Regions from separate parts of the Homo sapiens genome. Here regions 1, 2, 3, 4, 6 and 7 are each linked to region 5. The links are contacts of gene promoters, found by promoter capture Hi-C in blood cells and fetal thymus (Javierre and others, 2016). All regions are on one chromosome and are shown on one strand. Each heading gives the region's core, a stretch centred on a gene start or on the middle of the fragment in contact. The rest is flanking DNA. Distances are from core to core; before and after follow the strand shown. Region 1 overlaps LOC107984781 (a long non-coding RNA gene). Region 2 overlaps PCAT29 (prostate cancer associated transcript 29). Region 3 has its middle 120 kb from the start of PCAT29. Region 4 has its middle 11 kb from the start of LINC02205. Region 5 holds the start of TLE3 (TLE family member 3, transcriptional corepressor). Region 6 has its middle 6.1 kb from the start of LINC02205. Region 7 has its middle 33 kb from the start of LINC02205.

Evidence for each region. Contacts are between HindIII fragments. The CHiCAGO score rates a contact against its expected background, and 5 or more counts as called.
Region 1: a contact is called between a fragment that was not itself captured here and the fragment with the promoter of TLE3 in region 5, in 7 of 17 cell types (fetal thymus, naive CD8 T cells, total B cells and 4 more). The highest score is 13.7, in fetal thymus.
Region 2: a fragment that was not itself captured here is called in contact with the fragment with the promoter of TLE3 in region 5 in 3 of 17 cell types (activated CD4 T cells, non-activated CD4 T cells and neutrophils); the score reaches 7.0 in activated CD4 T cells.
Region 3: a contact is called between a fragment that was not itself captured here and the fragment with the promoter of TLE3 in region 5, in 9 of 17 cell types (activated CD4 T cells, naive CD8 T cells, total CD4 T cells and 6 more). The highest score is 14.1, in activated CD4 T cells.
Region 4: a fragment that was not itself captured here is called in contact with the fragment with the promoter of TLE3 in region 5 in 17 of 17 cell types (fetal thymus, non-activated CD4 T cells, monocytes and 14 more); the score reaches 24.6 in fetal thymus.
Region 6: a contact is called between a fragment that was not itself captured here and the fragment with the promoter of TLE3 in region 5, in 15 of 17 cell types (fetal thymus, M0 macrophages, monocytes and 12 more). The highest score is 13.2, in fetal thymus.
Region 7: a contact is called between a fragment that was not itself captured here and the fragment with the promoter of TLE3 in region 5, in 10 of 17 cell types (fetal thymus, M0 macrophages, total B cells and 7 more). The highest score is 15.1, in fetal thymus.

Annotation. Positions count from the first base shown.
Region 1 is chr15:70,527,799-70,530,498 of GRCh38, forward strand. LOC107984781 (a long non-coding RNA gene) reads right to left here. Exons shown (of 2, transcript XR_007064698.1): 2 at 875-1,436. Among named protein-coding and RNA genes, the nearest start is that of LINC02205, 23 kb to the left of the region's middle. RefSeq lists an enhancer at 660-709. The HindIII fragment of the contact is 3,599 bases long and covers 1-2,700 here.
Region 2 is chr15:69,693,494-69,696,193 of GRCh38, forward strand. It overlaps PCAT29 (prostate cancer associated transcript 29), which reads left to right. Exons shown (of 4, transcript NR_126438.1): 4 at 2,174-2,257. Among named protein-coding and RNA genes, the nearest start is that of PCAT29, 100 kb to the left of the region's middle. The HindIII fragment of the contact is 2,034 bases long and covers 373-2,406 here.
Region 3 is chr15:69,711,382-69,714,081 of GRCh38, forward strand. No RefSeq gene overlaps it. Among named protein-coding and RNA genes, the nearest start is that of PCAT29, 120 kb to the left of the region's middle. The HindIII fragment of the contact is 2,553 bases long and covers 18-2,570 here.
Region 4 is chr15:70,493,272-70,495,971 of GRCh38, forward strand. No RefSeq gene overlaps it. Among named protein-coding and RNA genes, the nearest start is that of LINC02205, 11 kb to the right of the region's middle. RefSeq lists an enhancer at 1-75. The HindIII fragment of the contact is 2,655 bases long and covers 104-2,700 here.
Region 5 is chr15:70,096,626-70,099,325 of GRCh38, forward strand. It overlaps TLE3 (TLE family member 3, transcriptional corepressor), which reads right to left and starts at 1,292. Exons shown (of 20, transcript NM_001105192.3): 1 at 150-1,292. The coding sequence starts at 173. RefSeq lists silencers at 431-550, 561-730, 2,320-2,399, 2,470-2,619 and enhancers at 1,550-2,524, 2,612-2,700. The HindIII fragment of the contact is 8,963 bases long and covers 1-2,700 here.
Region 6 is chr15:70,510,678-70,513,377 of GRCh38, forward strand. No RefSeq gene overlaps it. Among named protein-coding and RNA genes, the nearest start is that of LINC02205, 6.1 kb to the left of the region's middle. RefSeq lists an enhancer at 2,096-2,175. The HindIII fragment of the contact is 2,177 bases long and covers 283-2,459 here.
Region 7 is chr15:70,472,031-70,474,730 of GRCh38, forward strand. No RefSeq gene overlaps it. Among named protein-coding and RNA genes, the nearest start is that of LINC02205, 33 kb to the right of the region's middle. The HindIII fragment of the contact is 8,371 bases long and covers 1-2,700 here.

The sequences.
Region 1 (2,700 bases), core at 29-2,528, 430 kb after region 5:
TTTGTTTGTTTGTTTGAGATGGAGTCTTGCTCTGTCGCCCAGGCTGGAGTGCAGCGGAGCAATCTCAGCTCACTGCAAGCTCCGCTTCCTGGGTTCATGCCATTCTCCTACCTCAGCCTCCTGAGCACTTTGGGAGGCCGAGGCAAGCGGATCACTTGAGGCCAAGAGATTGAGACCAGCCTGGCCAACATGGCAAAGCTCCCCATCTCTACTAAAAATACAAAAATTAGCCAGGCATGGTGGCGTACACCTGTAATCCCAGCTACTCAGGAGGCTGAGGCATGAGAATTGCTTGAACCCGGGAGATGGAGGTTGCAGTGAGCTGAGATCACGCCACTGCATTTCAGCCTGAGTGACAGAGCGAGACTGTCTCAAAAAAAACAAAAAAACGAAAAAACAGTTCTTTTATCAATAGCTCCTGTTTCTGAGCCCCACACCCCACCCTGTTTGTGATCCCAATTCTAATTGCTCTGAGTTGGTTCTCTGCCCTCCATTCAGTTCCATGGGCTCTGCTACATGCTTCCAATAAACTCCTTAACGCCTACATTAGCCACAGGACTTCCTGTTGCTTACACTCAAAGCACTCTAGCAGATAAGAGCTGGAAAGTGAAAGCAAAACAGGAACATAACCCAAGATCAAAGGCCCAGTCGCCCAGAAGAAGGCTTGAATCAGAGAGGCAGGCACTGACCCAGGGCACAGGGTGCATGAAGCCGGGGGTGAGCGCCCAAAGGACAGGAGTGCATGCCTTGGAGCTCAGATGTCACCCTATCAGGCAGGTGACATTGTTGTTGACATCTTAGATCAGTGGAAGTCAACCGTGAGGCACCCCAACCTTGGTTCTTAATGGTGTCAGATACAATATGACAGGCCAGGTCTTAATCCGCCAAGTGTTTATTTTAATTTTGACCAATATGAGAGGTAATTTTGGAAGGTAAATAGGCATTTTTTTTTTTTTTTGGCCTAGGATGACTTGAATGTCACTGTAAGAAAGCAGGGCACTGGGTTAGAATTATATATTCATTCATTAAACAAACATTTATTGAGCTCCTCTTCTGTGCAAATATCTGCTCTGGGCGCTGGGGAGACCAAAGTGACTAAGTCATAGGCTCTGCTTCTGAGCATGAGGAGGGACGGCGGCCAGCACACAGCATGCCCCAGCAGTGCATGGTAAGGACCCAGAGACTGGAACACATGGAGTTCAGATGCAGAGAAACCTCTTTGAGCTGACAGGGTCAGGAAGGTGATGTGGGGCCAGCATTCAAGGTGCTCCTTGAGGGAAAGAGAAGGTTTCACTGACAGCAATTCCAGATGCAGAGGAGAAAAAGAAAAATGGCAAGTGGTCTGAATTGGCTGGCATGCCTCCAGGCCCAGGCAGGATGAGGAGGTAGGCTGACGTCAGATTGTGGAAGATCAGGCTGAGAAGTCTGCATTTTACCTGTAGTCAATGGAGAGCCAGTAACAATTTGGAGCTGGAGAGGGACATCATCAAAGCAGCAAACTGCAGAGAATCTTGTCAACAATCTGCTTAGCAGATTGGGGAGGGGAGAGTCTGAGCAAAGTTCAAGCTACTTGGAGGCTACTGCAATAGTCCAAGCAGGACCCTTCCCCTAAAGTGAACAACAGGAAGATGGAGATGAAAAACCCTGACGTGAGAGCTTGGCATTGAAAACTAGATGGGCATGGTAGGAGGGGGCAAGCCAGGGGGCCTCAGGGTTTAGACTAGAACGGTTTCTCAGTTCCATTCGAATAACACACATTTTCCTGGCACCTCCTATGTGCACAGCATGTGTTAGCAGGTGGTGAGATGGCAAGGAAAATACTGGAAGGCCCAGGTCCTTATAAAAGGCCAGGGCTTTTCTAAAATGTGCTCCATGCATCCACATCTCACCTTCATCATTAGTGAGTGGACACTGCACCTCTCAATTTCCCCACTGCCAGGTTACCTGAGTGGAGGCTTGGAGGCAAGAGAAGAGAATTGCAACCCAGAGGAAAAACTACAACTCTTGTTAGCAGTGGCTACTCCTTAGGCCTAGGGGTATAAACCCAACTCCCAGCCAAGGCCTTCATCTGGCTAGTTTATGCCCTGCCTTCTAGACTGCCTCTGACTCTTACCCCGGATTAACTTCACCCCAAAACAATTGACAAGGCCAGCCTCTATTTGTTTCAGAGCCACAGCTATACTCTGCAGAGTTTTAGCCCAGACAAAACACTCAGAAGAGTGCACTGTGCATTGTCCCAAATCCCTTCCACATGGCATCTCTCACAAGAGGCTGGCAGCACAGGCAAGGCAGAGCTGTGCCAAGCCAGGCCATGCCTCTCCATCACTTCCAGCACGAAGGGCCAAAGCCCAGCCCACACGCCACTCCTACTTTGGTGAGGTCTTCACCTCACATCTCCTGGGAACAAAAGTGCAGACAAGAACAGACACACACAGATACAGACACACAGACACACACACACACAGACATACACTGACACACACAGACACACACGGGCACACAACACACAGACACATGACACACACACACGGACATAGACACAGCCACATAGACACACACAAACACACTCACAGTCACATAAACACACACTCACAGACACACAGATACACAACACACACAGACACACACACGGACACACAGACACACACAGCCACATACACAGACACACACAGACACTCAGACACAAACACACAAACACAC
Region 2 (2,700 bases), core at 140-2,639, 400 kb before region 5:
ATACCAAAATATATAAACAGTATTTACACAGGTGTGTGTATATATACAACCAAAGCCACCTTCTTCTATACATAGGGATTATAGTACAAATGTTTGTTGAATGAATAAATGAGTGACTAACAGTAACTGGGGGGCTCTGACTGTGAAAGGCTCTCATTTATGCCCCCAACGACTGTCAGTCAGGAAAACAGAGCTCACACAAGTTGTTTGAACAGAGAGATTTTAACGTAGGGAACTGAGTAAACAAGAATTGGAGGCGCAGAAAGACAGAAAGTGGCCATTGAGGACTTACAGAGATAGTAACTGCCAAAAGGCAGCTATACCTTTAGGACAGAGGAACAAAGAAAGAGATCAGGGTTATTAGAACCTGGAAGCTTGGAGAAGAAACTGCAGTGCTAGGACCTAAAACTCAGAGAAGCTGGTGCTGGCTGATTGGTGCTGATGTTGCTGGACATGCCAAGGTGGGTTCTGAGGGTGTGGCAAAAAGCCAGTGAACTGGAATTCACTGCTGGTGGAGTGATGTGGCCAGGAGTAAGCAGCAAATGGGATAGATGGGGTCTCTCCTTCTGCCTCTCTTTGTCCCTCCAAGAGTCAATGGGAGGGGGCCTAGTAAGGAGAAGCTAGTGAAGGGGAAATGTGGCTTGCAGGATTTCATCTCCAGGAGCACAAAGTAGAGAACAGAAGGGTGGATTTGGGGCCGAGGGACAAGAGTTTAATAACCAGCGCTCCTTGTTCCTGTTCTTTTGGAGCTTTTGTACAAATTAGAAAAAAGTATACCCTCTGGGCAGAATTAGCCCTGGGTCAGGGTGCATGGTGTGGTGGGTAGAGAAAGATGCTGCACCATACCTGGGCATAAGGTCGGCAGGAGAATATGGGCTGGATTTTACCCCCCAACTATCCTTTTCACCAGGTGTATTTGTATAGGGTACAACCTAGTGCAGTCGTATGTAATGGCCCTGCATCTGTCCAGCTATAAGCATTATAGTCCATTTGGTTACATGTGGGCATCACACACACACACAGACACACAGACACACACACACACACACACACACACACACAGACACCATGAAAGCACATTCTTTTCTTCTTTGGGAGCAGGGGTTTGGGGTGGTATATCAATCAGGAGGCCTCTGTTATCCCTGCTGTATCAACTCACTGGGTATGGGCCCCTTCTCAACATCAGGACCCAGGGTCTAACTTGTACAAATGTGCATCTATAGACAGAGCATTGACAACATACACATAATTTTCTCAGTAAATCTAGGATGAGAAACTGTTTCTGAGGGGGCTGTGGTGAACAAAGATGGGGAGTTAGGCCTTTTTAGACAGTAGGCGTTCAAGAAGTTTGAAAGGCTATTTCAGAATGCTTCATAACAGAGTTTTCAAATTGGTTGGGAGTCTGGAAATGACCTGGTAATAACGATTATGGTGATGAGAATAGTTGTCTTACACTAGGTTCTCTGGATCCAGACTGAGACAGAGGTGGTGTGAGAAGCTGGTAGGTGTTAGTGGGAAATCATCTGCGAGGAGGTGAGGAGGCAGACAGGGCAGAGGAAGAAGCTGAGAGACGTGCAGCTGCACCAGAGGCCCTGGCTGATCCGGGGACCTCTGGAACAAGGATGGCCCTTTAGGGTAGTCTCCAATTTAGGTAAGAAGCCTGGGCTGTGTGTCTACACATCGGCCCTTTATCGGCCATGGCCCCTCTTGGGAGGAGGCATGGCCTCGGAAGGAGAGCAGGTTTCTGATGAGTAATAACTGTGACCTTCCCATCGGCTGGAGGATTGGGGTCTTGGCTCTGAAGAGGGGATCTGGGCAGCATGCCGCTGCATCCACTACAATAGTGATGAGGGTGTCAATAGCTACCACCAGGCCATCACCTACACAAAAGCTAGATGTTTTGCCCATAAACCTGGTCCTCTCCAAGTCTCCCCCATCTGAGTGAGTGGTATTAACCTCCAACCCCACTTCTCAAAACAAAATCACCAGAGTCTTCCTTGATTCTCCCCTTTTCTCCTCTCACAATCTGTCAGTAGGAATTATTGGTTCCAGCTCCAAAAATACATTCTGAATCTGTCCACTCCTCTCCATTTCCATCCCTCCGGCCCAAGCCATTAAGTCCTCCGTGACCAACTGTAACAGCTTCCTAACACACCTCTTTCTTCCCATCCAGGTTGCCCCGACGGCCACTCTCCATACTGCTGCCAGAAGAACCTTGAAATATCGCTCTTTTTAATTAAAAAGCAAAACTCTTCAATTGTTTTTGTTGCATTTAAAGTTCAAACTTCTTACCACGGAGTGAAAGGCCCCACACAATTGGCCCTGTCTTCTTCTCCAACTTCCATTTTTCTTTGGTCCACCGTGTTCTAGCCGCATGGGCCCTGTCTTGATTCCTTGTACATGTCAAGCTTACTCTTGCTCCAGAGCCTGTGTGGTAGTTGTTCCCTCTGCCTGGAATGGCCTTCCCTAGAACCTGCCTTGGCTGGTTCTTCTTGCTATTCAAACCTCAGCTCCCACATCACCTCCTGTGTTAGGCCTCCCTGGACCACTCTAATTAAATTAGTACTGGAGACATCAGTCCACCTGGCTTCAGGGGCCAGGCCTTCCTCTTGCAGCCTAGAGGCTCTTTGCAGACTGCTCAAAGCTCCCTTTGCACAACTCAACCTGGCAGTGGGGCCTTACTTTCTATTTTTATGATCT
Region 3 (2,700 bases), core at 44-2,543, 390 kb before region 5:
TGGGGCAGTGGATTAAAAGCTTTGTTTGCAGCAGCCCTGGGATTTGGAGTCTTGGAACAGGCTGATCTGGAGAAATGGCTCCTGTACTAAGTGTACATATGTATATGAGTGTGTGTGTGTGTGTGTGTGTGTGTGTGTGTGTGTGTCTTCTCTGTGGGCATGTATGCTGGGGTCTGGATATCTGCCATGCATGGGGGAAGATTGAGTTCCCCAGGATCTCATGTCTCTCCCCTGACTTCCAGAGGTTTCCTCCTGGGCACTAAACCACCAGCCCAACAACTCCAGAGTCAATACAGAGATGCTCTTGGAGGGCCCTCCACAGTCCTGTAAAAGAGACAACGTTCTTCAGAGGACCAGGGCATGGACTTGGAGCTGGATAGCCCTGTGCTCTGTAGCCTTGGACAGGTCTCTGATATCTTGGCTCCTCTGGGGTAATTACTTATGCAGGGCTTCTCTTGTGCCAGGTGTTGAGTGAAACCCCTTGCTTGGATTATCTGATTTAATCTTCATAAACACCTTAGGTTTTGCAGAAGGGAAACTGAGGCACAAAGCGGTTAGATTACTTGTCTTAGATCAAAAAACAGCTGAGTAAAGAGCAGGGGGCTGAAGTCAAGCAGTCTTAGCTCAAAGCGCATGTTCTTGAGTGCTGCACCCCACTCCTTTTCATAGAGTAAAGCCTGATGATACCTTCTTGTAGGATACTGAATTAATATAAATTAAATGGCATCTATGAAATGACTGGAACACTACAGAAATGCAATCTATGGAGGCTGATATAATCAATATCTATTTCAACCCTCCTCTCTTAAAGGTGAGGAAACTGAGGCATGGTTTATATACATGACTTGATAGTCAGCGTTGAGTATGGTAGTCTCAAAGTCATGTCTGCTGATGGCCAACCAGTTTCAGTTTTCATTATGCTGTGCCTTGTCAGGTAAAAATTAGAAAGAAAGGTAACCTAATATTTTGGAGGAATCAAGACTAAGAGAAAGGTGGGGTGGATAGGCACTTGAGGATATGTGAGGACTTTTCCCCATAACTTCCCAACCACCAACGATTTAGGTCCTAGGATCCCAATTTGCAATTTGCATATCTGGTCTCAGAGAAGTAGGTGACTTGCCTGAGGCCTTTGCATGATAAGAGAGGGCCATGATTTGAACTCTGGCCTGTCTAAGTTAGTGATTTTTTCCTACATTCCCAGCTCAAAAGTGGGGCCCAAGATTAAGCCCACAGTAGACACAATTGTGACTACAGATTGTGGTGGGGATGGGGCGGGCAGTCTCTTTATTGCTGCTCCTCCTTCATAGCATCAGGGGAGCTCCTGGGGCTGGGGAACAGGTACTCGGAGGGGCAGTGTGCCCTAGAGAAAGGGGCAGCTCTTGAAACAGGAAGTGGCTGGACTTTTTCTTGAGCACCAAGGAAGCCAAGAACAGCCATTTGGTCTTCATGTATCCAAGATAGCCTCTAGGGCCCCTTCTGCCCAGCAGGGTGACTTTCAAATGTCGGGAAGGTGATGTTGTACCCATAGGGTTGAGGGGTCATATGCCAGTGGCAGATAGAAAATATCTCAGAAATCTCAGGCTTTATTTTAAAAATGCGTGCAGAATTTAAGGAAATCTATTTCTTTCCCACAGCATATCCACGTGTGCATGTATGTTTGTGTGTGGGTATGCATAAGTGTGTATGCACATCGCAATTCTCTAACTAACCACTGTTCTAGGAAGAGCTGCTGTGCCTTTGGTATAGCTCCCTATACTCCCTGGAACCCTGCCATGTATTCATCACCCTCACTCTGGGATATGTGTACTACCCAGCAGGTCAAATACTTCCATTTCCTGAGCCTAGGGAGGAACTGGGCAAACAGTTAAGGGCTAAAGGGGCATAGTTCATAGTGAGGATCTGCTCAGTGTGGCTGAGCTGAAACAGGTCAGGAAGTTACAAGATTGCCTGATGTCACCCAGTAACTGTAAGACTAGAACTCTGGTCCCTAAGTCCTAGTTCAGCACACATTTCCACCTCCTCTGGGCCAGCTCCTGGGCAACAGAATATACTTGGTCATACTTCTTGCCTTGTCTGCCTACCTGGCACATTGCTGGGAAACAGGGCTTCTCTCTGGGAGCCCAACATTCTGGCAATCAAATATAAAGTATGACTTGTGCCCACCCCACTCCTCCCCACTACTGTGGCTGAAACGCTGTGATTCCCACACCTGGGCTCTCCCACTTGCCCTTTTGGATTTCTAGACAGGCAAGTGAGAAATATGTGATCTGTTTGGACTTGAGCAAGATATTTGGCAAGGTGTCTCATGCGCATCTCAAGGTGAAGAGTTAGGACTGGATGCTAGTGCAATTCAATAGATTAGGAACCGGTTAAAGGGCCATACCCAAATGGAATGGATAAATCTAACTACATCAGCCTAGATGAGGGTCTCTAGTGGCATGTCAAGGGACTCTGTCTTTGGCCATATCTTATTCAGCCCTTTTATCAATGACTGGAATGAAATAGGTGAGGGAAGGGTGAACATTTATTGAGAAACTCCTGTGTCAGCAACTATTGCCAATATTTTACAAAGCTTATTTATCTTATCCCTCACAGCCTGACTGTAAGAGAGGTTGTATTACCCTTTCACAGACCAGGAAATAAATATGTAACCAAGGGCAAGCAACTTGCCCAAGGTCTCACAGCAATTAATGCAATAAG
Region 4 (2,700 bases), core at 181-2,680, 400 kb after region 5:
TCCACGTCTGTCCACAGCAGAGAAAGGAATGAAGATGCTGGGCTGGCAGCTCCCACCCATTCACCCAGGGCTGGGGCCCAGCTGTGCCAGTCTTTCCAAAGGAAGCTTCAAGGAGAATGGAAAGAGCACTGGATATAGAGTTAGATAGATCTGGGTTTCAACTCCACCTACCTCATTGCCTTACTGTGATCCTGATCAAGTGATTTCAGTTTCTTCATCTGTAAAATGGGGAGCATAACATCACCCCTTCCAGATGTGTTGGGAGGAGTAACTGAGCTAATACACAAGCCTACACAGTATCTGGCACATAGTAGATGCTCAATAAATATGAGTGTCCTTCTTCTGCAGCACGATGACAGGGGTTCTGGTGAAGCAAGGACAGGCAGCAAAGTGTTGGGAAGAGCCCTGCAGTGGGAGTCAAGAGGCTTTGGATCCAATCCTGGCACTGCCTCCAACTTGCTGTGTGGTGTTAGGCCAGTTGGAGCACCTCTCTCATCTTTAGTTTTCAAGCATAAGTCTGGGATATGGGAGCAGATGGTTTCCAAGGTCTCCCTCAGCGGTGACACTCTAGGACAGGGGCTTGGTGCTGATAGGATAGTGACACTGCTCAGGGTGATGGGAACGGTGAGAGGGATGTGGTCGTGACCATTACTAGGTGCACGGTGCAGCTCATCGGCAACAGTGAAGACAGCAAAGCCAGTGGTGGCCCGGGCTGGGGCCCAAGCTCGCTCAGGCAGGGCCCAGGAGGTATCTCCAAGGACACTATGCTGAACAGTGAGAGTGGCCTGCGCTCAGGACAGGTGGGCACCCTCCACCAGCCAGCCTAGCCTCACCCACCATGCTCAGGAATCAGGCCCTTGTTCCCACCCAACAGGTGAGCACCAAGAGTCCCACGAAAGACTGAGGACCTCCTCTACCTTCAGGGAGTTTCTGCTGATGGAAGACAGACTTCACAATGCATGCTCATTAATTATTAACCATCATAACCACACATCAGAACATTGATTTACTGCTTGAGGTCGTGCCCTGTGTTAAGCCCTTAATGAGCATTATCTCATTTAATCCTCCTGACAACCCGGGATGAGGTCATCACTATCATTATTTCTATTCCGCAGCGGGAGGAAAATGAAATGCAGAGAGGTTATGCTCCCTGGCTCCACTGTAAGCAGCAGAATAAGGATTCCACAGAGGCTCAGGGGGAGCCTTGGGGCCTCCAGAGGAAAGGATCTTTCTGCTGGGAGATTGGGAAGGTGTCCCAGAGGTGGGGACATGCGAGTCAGGTGATGACAATCCTGGTTCTCATTTATCAAGCACTTGCTAATGTCACGCACTTCTAAGTCTTTAGGGGAGATTCTCATTTAGTCCTTACTTCCACCCCTGTGGCAGGTACTATTATTATTCCTGTTTTACTGAGGCACAGAGAGGTCAAGCCCTACCCTGTGCAGGGGAAAAGGAGGCCAAGCAGAGCGAATGGCTTGGAAGGTACCATGCTCAGGAAATGACAGGCGGTTGGTGTGGCTGGAGGCTTAGGTGCTGGCAATAGAGGTTAGAAAGGCAGGCAGGTGGGGCCAGGTCATGATTCCCCCACCTTCCCCCACAACACCCCCTGGGAGGAAGGGACCCAGGTCCTAGCCTCGCTCAAGAAATTGGCATTCAAACTTAGGGGCCTCCCCTTCCCGCCCAGTTCCCAAGGAGGCAGCCTGTTAGTCACCCTGTGACTGATACATTCAGACTCAGAGTAAGCAAACAGATCATAGGGGCCCCTAATCCCCTCACACCCAGAAAGCTGGGGAGAGGCTAGAGAGACAGGCCTGGAATCCATGGCCTCCGGGGGAGATAAGGAAACCTCATTCCACCCTCCTTCCCCAAACCAGTAGAGCAAAATGCCAGCGTGATTCATTTTTTGAAGACAGAATAAACAAGTCCAGAGAAGAGATTAAGTCTTTGTTTCACCCGACTCAAGACAGTTGGAAAAGCAGAATTAGAAATGCTGCAACCCAGGGTTGGCAAACAGAAAATTAGTGGCAGATTAATTTCATTGTCTCACTGGGGAACAGAATCCTGTATGTTAAGTATAGGTTTCAAGGGAGATTAATTTCCCATCTCACCAGGTTGGAGGGAGTCGCCTGCAGGGAGTTCACTGGAGTTCTCTGCCTCTGGAGAGCAGGGAGACCAGTTTCAATGGGGGAGAAGCAAGAATCCCCAGGGTATCACGACGGGGCTGAATGGGTTGCTGGGTCCAGGCCTCTCCTGTCAGCCCTGATAGCTGGAAGGGAAGCTCTGAGCTTTCAGCAACCCAGTGTACTACATCACAGCCCCTCTACATAGCTTTGCCTTCACGCGAAGGTATGCTCAGACCCATTCCTTCCTACTCACAAGCCCTTCTGTGCTCATTCTGCCCTTCCTTGGAACAGTCTTTATCTAGTGTTTACTAAGTGCCAATGCTTCCCTTAGAATCATTCGGTTAACTCTTGCAACAAAACCAAGAGGAATAACCATTATTATTTCCACTTTACAGATGAGAAAACTGGCACACAGAAAAAGATAAGTAGTAGAGCTGGTAAGTGGCAGAGCCAGGATTTGAGCCCAGGCCATCTGGAAACCAAATCTGTGCTCTTCACTTCAAGTTTATGCCGCTCCAAATACAGGGTTTGCTTAAAATGGAGCATGCTTGTACTACGTGGTGTTTCTCTGGGCTAT
Region 5 (2,700 bases), core at 42-2,541:
CCCCCGGCCGCATCCCCCTTTGTGTGAGAGCACACACACAAACACACACACCATAAAGGTAGCAACAAGCAAAATGGAGGTGCCAGATAAACTGCCTCGTTTACCCTGCCATGATAGATGCTTAAATAAACCGAGTTGCAATTACTCACCGGATGTCTGCCCTGCGGATACATGGCAGGGAGGGGTCGTGATTCCGAGAGCGTGGAAGCGCCGAGAGCCCGGGCCGGGGAGGTGCGGGGGAGGGGGGAGCCGAGCCCGAGCGGGGGGCGGCCGGGAAACCGAGAGCTCGCCCCCGGCCCCCCCAGCTCGTTCTCGCAGCGAAATCCCAGAGTCGGGCGCCCGCCCCAAGTGGAGACAAAGAGCCGCGGAGCAGGCGGCAAAGTCGTCGGCGGGCGCCGGGGCCGGGCGGCGGGCGCGGGCTTTGTGCGCCTAGGGCTCGGCGGGCAGCGGCCGGCCGCCTTCCCTGGGCTGCGTCGAGCGCGTCAATGCCTGGGACTGCGCGGACATCGTCGGCTCCCCAGCAGGTCCGGCGCGGGGTCCCGAGGCCGGGGGCCCCTCCTGGGGCGAGCTCGGGCCCCCTCCGGGTCACTCAGCGGGTCGCGCCTGTAGGGGGGCGCGCCGGGGCAGCCCCAAGCATCCGGGGCGCGCGGGTCCGATCCTAGAGGCGTCCGGGCCTGGGGCTCGCGGCGAGAAGAGGAAGGAGGCGGGCTACGAGGTGGTGGCTTGGGGCCGCAGGAGCGCCGGAGGGTGAGGGCGGGAGCCCGGCGCGGGCGCTTCGACGCCCCCCCTCGGAGAGGAGAGCCTGCTGTTCCGTCTGCTACTGCCGCTGCCGCCGCCGCCGCCGCCGCTGCAAGCCCTTCCCAGGGCCGGGGAGGAACTCCGGGCTCAGTAGGTGCAAATCAAACGCCCTGGCATCCTAAGTCCAGCGGGCACGGGAAGCCTCCGCAAAGGGTTCTCGCTGCTCCCAGCTTGAGCACCGCGTCCCCACCGAGGAGCGCTCAGCGCCACCGCCGCTGCCGCGTCGGAGCGCACAGGCAGGAGAGCGCTGGAGGGGAGACGCAGCCCGAGACCGGGGAGCTCTACGGCTTCCTTCCTTCCCCTCGGCCCGGCTCTCCTCTCCGCGCCCCGGCAAACCCCCAAAACACACACACCCAACACACACACACGCGCGCACGCACACACACACACACCAAAAAAAAAAGTGCCCCGGACCTACGGATACCACACACAGACAGGCGAAGGGGACGAGCACGAGGTCTGAACTGCCGCGAGAGCAGTTCCAAATAGGGACTGAAAAGTAACAAAATAATGTGGCAGCTTCGTCCGGCGCTGGCCAATGGGAGCGCGGGGCCCCCACGTGGGGCTGCGGGACTCGGCCTACGACTGGGTGCCGCTGGGCGCGACGTCACAATGCCCTCTTGTGTCTAAAACTATGCATGAAAAGTAGCAATCAGGCCCTACCCGCTGGTGACTTTCGCATGGGAGTGAAAAACAGCGCTCCTCAGATCAGGAATTAACCGAAAGACATATAATAAATAGATATATATTATAGTCCTGGGCTGCTCGAGTTTTTTTCCTCCTTTTTTTTCCCACGGTCTACTAGCAAATAATTATTTAGCGGGAGGAGGAAAGAGGGAAGACAGAGGAATAACAACAAAAGAAAATAAGACAAGCTGTACAATCTTCAAAACCTGTGGCTGGTAGTAATGTATCAGTTTATTCTGCAGCGGCGGCGAACGATTCCTCCCTCTAATCTCATTAGGTCTGCAAAGCAGCCCAATTAGATACTATAAAACAAACAATCACTTTGTCACTTTAATGTTTTCACTTCAAAAGATTTAGGACTGATAAAACGGTGGCTCCTAAAGTTGCCTCCGACCTTTAAAAATTTGCTCGGAACTCAGGATGTCCCCTTTTCTTCACCCCTTCTTCTGCCCGCCTCCCCCACATTAGCCCCCAGCTCTCCTTTGTTCACTCGCCCTTCTTTTCAGAAAGCCAAATAAACAGCTCCTTTGATGTGCGGCGGCTGCCTGCGAGGAGAAGTCTGAGGGACTCTGGCTAGGCGGGCAGCGCAGATGGAAGGGCCCGGCTGCCCGTGGACAACAGGCTCAGCCACGGCTGGCCCCATTCGGGGCGCCTTCCCCGTGGGCACAACTTCACCCTCGACGCAGCCTCGCCGCGCGGGCTCCTCACTGCATCCCCAGGCTGAGGGGGTTGGGGATGGGGTCGGGACCCTGCTCGGCCGAGGCCCGGGAACTCCGAGTTCCCACCTGGTTTGCTCAGCCTGCTCCCGGCAGTGCCACGGCGTTGGCGGAAGCCTGTAGGTGTCTCGGTCGCTAGCCTGGACACTCCGAGGGACGCGGACGCTCCCCCGCTCGCTCGCCCCGGCCCCGGGCCCCCCGGACCCCCCGCTTGGTCGCACAGGCCACTCGACTCCGGGGCCAGCTTGCCCGCAAACCGATGGCCTCGCCCTCCCGCGCTCGGGGTTACGGCGGGGCAGACGAGCAAGCAGGGAGTGGACCTCAAAGCGCGCACCGCCCGGTGGACGGCCAAGGCGGGACCCCCGGGGCCCTCCCCGGCAAGTCCGCGAGCCCGCGCGCGAGCCGGCCGCGCGTCCCCGGATCTATATTTTCCCCTCATTAGGAGCCGGAGGTTCGCTTTTGCATCTTAATGAGGAGCTGAGAGCTAGCGGGCGCTCGG
Region 6 (2,700 bases), core at 121-2,620, 410 kb after region 5:
TATGATCATGTCAATAGATGCAGAAAAAGCTTTCAATAAAATCCAACATCTCTTTATGATTAAAAAAAAACCCTCAACAAACTAGGCATCAAAAGAACATACTTCAGAAGACTAAGAACCATCTACAACAAACCCACAGCCAATATCAAACAGAATGGGCAAAAGCTGGAAGCATTCCCCTTAAGAACAGGAATAAGACAAGGATGCCCACTCCCACCACTCCTATTCAACATAGTACTGGAAGTCCTAGCCAGAGCAATTAGGCAAGACAAAGAAACAAAAAGCTTCCAAGTAGGAAAAGAAATCAAATTATCTCTCTTCACTGACAATATGATTCTATACCTAGAAAGCCCTAAAGACTCTGCCAAAAGGCTCCTAGAACTGATAAACAACTTCAGTAAAGTTTCAGGATACAAAGTTAATATACAAAAACCAGCAGCATTTTTATAAACCAATAATATTCAAGCTGAGAGCCACATCAAGAACTCAATCCCATTTACAATAGCCACTCAAAAAAAAAAAATACCTAGGAATACATCCAACCAAGGAAGTGAAAGATCTCTAAACAGAACACTACAAAACACTACTGAAATACTGAAAGAAATCATAGGTAACACAAACAAATGGAAAAATGTTCCATGTTTGTGGACTGGAAGAATCAATACTGTTATAATGGTCATACTGCCCAAAGCAATCTACAGATTTAATGCTATTCCTATCAAACTACCAACATCATTTTTCACAGAATTAGAAAAAAATTCATATGGAACACTTACAACCATTTGATCTTTGACAAAGTCAACAAAAATAAGCAATAGGAAAAGAAATCCCTATTCAATAAATATTTGATGCTGGGATAACTGACCAGCTATATGCAGAAGAATTAAACTGGACCCCTACATTTCACCATATACAAAACTTAACTCAAGATGGATTAAAGACTTAAATGTAAGACCTAAAACTATAAAAATCCTAGAAGAAAACCTGGGAAATACCATTCTGGACATCAGCCTTGTCAAAGAATTTATGACTAAGTCCTCAAAAGCAATTACAACAAAAACAAAAATTGACAAATGGGACATAATTAAGGAACTTCTGCACAGCAAAAGAAACTATCAACAGGGTAAACAGACAACCTACAGAATGGGAGAAAATATTCACAAACTATGCATCCAACAAAGGTTTAATATCCAGAATCTATAAGAAACTTAAACAATTAAACAAGCAAAAAAACAAATAACCTCATTAAAAAGTGGTCAAAGGACATAAACAGACACTTCTCAAAAGAAGACACACAAGTGTCTGACAAACGTATGAAAAAAATGTTCAATATCACTAATCATCCAAGAAATGCAAATCAAAACCACAATGAGACACCATCTCACACCAGTCAGAATGGCTATTATTTAAAAGTCAAAAAATAACAGATGCTGGCAAAGCTGTGGAGAGAAAGGAACACTTATACACTGTTGGTGGGAATGTAAATTAGTTCAGCCACTGTGAAAAGGCAGTTTGGAGATTTCTCAAAGAACTGAAAATAGAACTATTATTCAACCCAGCAAGCTCATTAGTGGGTATATACCCAAAGGAATATAAATTGTTCTGCCAAAAAGACACATGTAGTCGTGTATTCCTCACAGCACTGTTCACAATAGCAAAGATATTAAATCAACCCAGGTGCCCATCAGCAGTGGATTGGATAAAGAAAATGTGGTACATATACACCATGGAATACTATGCAGCCATAAAAAAGAATGAAATCATGTCCTTTGCAGCAACATGGATGCAGCCAAAGGCCATCATCTTAAGCAAATTAATGCAGAAATAGAAAACCAAATACTGCATGTTCTCACTTGTAAGTGAGAGCTAAACATGGACACATAAACACATGTCCATAAACACATGGACATAAAGATGAGAACAGACACTGGGGACCACCAGAGTGGGGAGAGAGGGAGAGGGGCAGGGGCTGAAAAACTACCTATTGGATACCATGCTTATTACCTGGGTGACAGGGTCATTCATATCCCAAACCTTGGCAACATGCAATATACTCGGGTAAGAAATCTGCACATGTAACCCCTGAATTCAAAATAATAGCTGAAATTTTAAAAAAGAATTTGCTGGTGGGGCACCCTTCGGAGTTGGCAGCAAACCAGGCGGTCGTCCCAGGTGAATCCTTGAAGGTAGGGCTGGCCCTACCCAAAATTATGTACTCCATGCTTGGCTCTACAGCACCCTCTTCCTGCCAAGTCAGGCCACTACCACTGTCAGTGCAGCCCAGAGACTTGAGCACCCCACAGTGGCCGCACCTCTGCTCTGCTGGCCCCAAGTAAATGGCACACACAGCATAGTGGCTCCAACACTGAAGATTTTTCCTGGACACAGCAGCCCGTGGCCCTTTGTTGAGCCACACAAAGACAAAGCAGCTCAATTGCGATACCTAGCAGGCTAATGTAAGCTTGTACTCCCCCAAATTAAAAGGGATCAGTGGCATATATTAGTTATGCTAGAAAAAGAAACAAGATAACATTTTTTTTTTTAACAGAAAAGCAAAAATGACAGAGGTGCAGAGTGGGGAGAGGTGGGGCGAAGAATGAGGGGAAAAAAATCAATTTTCCACAAACTACATTCCAGGGCACAAAGTGGAGAATGGGAAAATTAGTTTCCAGAACGACTCCTGTCTACTTTGTCCAAAAA
Region 7 (2,700 bases), core at 73-2,572, 380 kb after region 5:
TGCAGTCATGCTGCTATAACAAAATACCACAGACTGGGTAATAGATAAAGAACAGAAATTTATTCCTCACAGTTCTGGAAGCTGGAAGTCCAAGATGAAGATGCTGGTGGGTTCCATGTCTGGCAGGTGAGGACTAGTCTCTGCTTCTAAGATGGTGCCTTAAACACCGTGCTCCAGAGGGGATGATACTGTGTCCTCACACAGCAGAAGGGCAGAAGAGAAAAAGGACAAAAGAACCTAGCTAGTTCCCTCCGGCCCTTTTGTAGGGCACTAATCCCATCCGTGGGGCGGAGCCCCCCTAAAGGCCCCACCTCCTAATATGATTGCATTGGAGATTAAGTTTCAACATAATTTTGGAGAGGATGCAAATGTTCTAACCATAGCAATATGCAAACAGTCCTGAGACTACCCCCGCCCCCCACCTCCTCTACTGGGCTGTCACACTCAGGGCCCCTATGCCCCTTCCCCAGTCACCCCAGGGCCAGGTACCAAACAACTAGGGACTGTGTCCCAGAACCTTACATTATTCAAACTAGCCGATCCTAAACCTGCTTGCCCTGCCCTGCCCATCCATTCCCATAGAAACCACCACAAAAGTTCCTGCCCATGTTTTCCCCTCGCCCCCTGCCTCCTGACTGCCCCTGGTGTTTCCCCACGTGGCCCCGCATGGTGTGGCATGCTCCCTTCTCCTGGAACTGTGAGTAACAAGTTTTCCATGGCATCAGCTCCTGATTTATTGGCCGTGCCATACCTGAATGATAATAAAGCCTACATCTTCAATGTAGAGGGAAGGAGGAAGGGAGGGAGGGAGGGGAAAGGTGGATGGAAGAAAAGAAGGAAGGAAGGGGGTTAGATGGATGGATGGATAAAAGGAAGAAAGCAAGGGAGGATGAAATCAACCTGGGCCTCAAGTTTCCACAGGAATGATCTGACTATAACTTTGCTCCATGGTTGAAAAGAAGCAGCTTTCTCCTACCAAGTTTTGGCTGTGTTTGGGAGAATGTACCTTCACAGTGCCACAGGCCAGCAATCAATACAGCATCTTCTCACTCCCTTTGCAGACAGAAAGACCTGGATCTGAATCCTGGCCCTGCCATTCACTGGCCATGAGACCATGGCCAACTGACTTAACCTGTGTGCGAGACACACACATGTATATGTCTACCTTCCGAGTTCCCTGATGCTAGAACCAGAAGATGCAGGCATAGCATGGTTTCCAGCACAGAGTACGCACTCCCCGACATTCATAATGAGTATTATTATTCGGCTATTCTGCAGTCCCGCACCCCAAGTGCCATCTGTTAGAAAGACTGTGCTATTTGGTCTAAATGTCTTCCTCACCCAGAAGCCCCTATTTGGGGCTCTTGGTCTCTGCCTCACCAAAAGCCATGCTAATCCCTTCCTGGTCCCCAGTCCGGAGTTCAGGGCTCGGCAGGCAAACGCGTGCTCCCTATCCAAAGGACTAGAAGGGCCCTACAACGCACCACATGCCTACATTTCACAGACCTCTCTTCTGGAGTTACGCTGACCCCTCCCCATTGAGAGGCTGCTTGGCTTTCCCTGCTGCTTTTAAAGTGAGAAGGGGGAGGACCTTTACGCTGGAATCGCATTTCAATTTCCCCATCTCCCCTGTACACCATCACTCAGTAAAAATAGCTAATTTTAAAATGGCTGCTCTTATGATGGACGAGATTAATGGATCTTGAAGAGCAGCCAGTATACCAACTGCTCCTGCAGCCATGATGAAAGCTAATAATGTAGAAAATTCTGCCAATTCCTTTAATTCATGAATATTTAAGCCTGTGAAAAATCTGTCAGATTATATCATTTTTTTCTGGTGATTTTCCGCCTAAGTACGTTCATGGCAGCCTGCCAGTTGCTCAAGAAACTTCAGCAGGAGCAAAATCATTTTTGTTGTTGTTGTTACTATGGACGGCCGTCTTCTCCTTGCTGAATTTATCCCCTCATCCCCGGGTGGAGGATCAGGTGCACTCGAGACAGCTAAAGGCAACCACGGTGATTTCCCCCAGCAGGCACAGATTCCTCTCCCAACCCAAAGGCTGGCAGGGGCTTTTGTGAAAGGAGACCATGGTTTTCAAATTGTGTTCCACGGCACCCAAGTCTTCCTCCTTGGGGCCCGGGGGGATCACTGGGAGGGGTTTGGGCTGGACATGCTGCGTGCATGGGGCTGCCGGACCCAACTCCCACTTGCACCAAGCAGTTCTGTTTGGTGCATTGAGATTCCCTGCAAATAAGTGTTGCCCCAACTTAAAACAATTTGAAAGGCATGAGCATGGAAACCACAGCTCTAACCCACCCCTCCCGGCTTGAACAACAAAGGGAGAAACTCAGCCCCCATGATGGTAACTGGTAAGCCCACCTCATGGGAAGCACTAGCAGTGGCACCTGAGCGGCAACCAGGATCCTTAACTGCAAGTGAGCGCTCTCTCCCCATCTCCAGCACACTCTGGGTGACCTCTTGGGCTCTGCCTGTTTGGGGAAGGCAGGAAATGAGGCTCAGATGGGCCACGCTCCCCAGCCACAGTGGAAAGTCCTCTCTGAAGCCAAGATGTTTCCTTGCAAAGACAAGAGAGAGCGAGAGAGAATGAGCATGTTTAGTGACTTGAGAGGGAGGGAGGGGTGGCCAACTTCAGAGATGATTATCATTCAGGGACTTGTTGGCTGGAGGAAGGAGCGAGC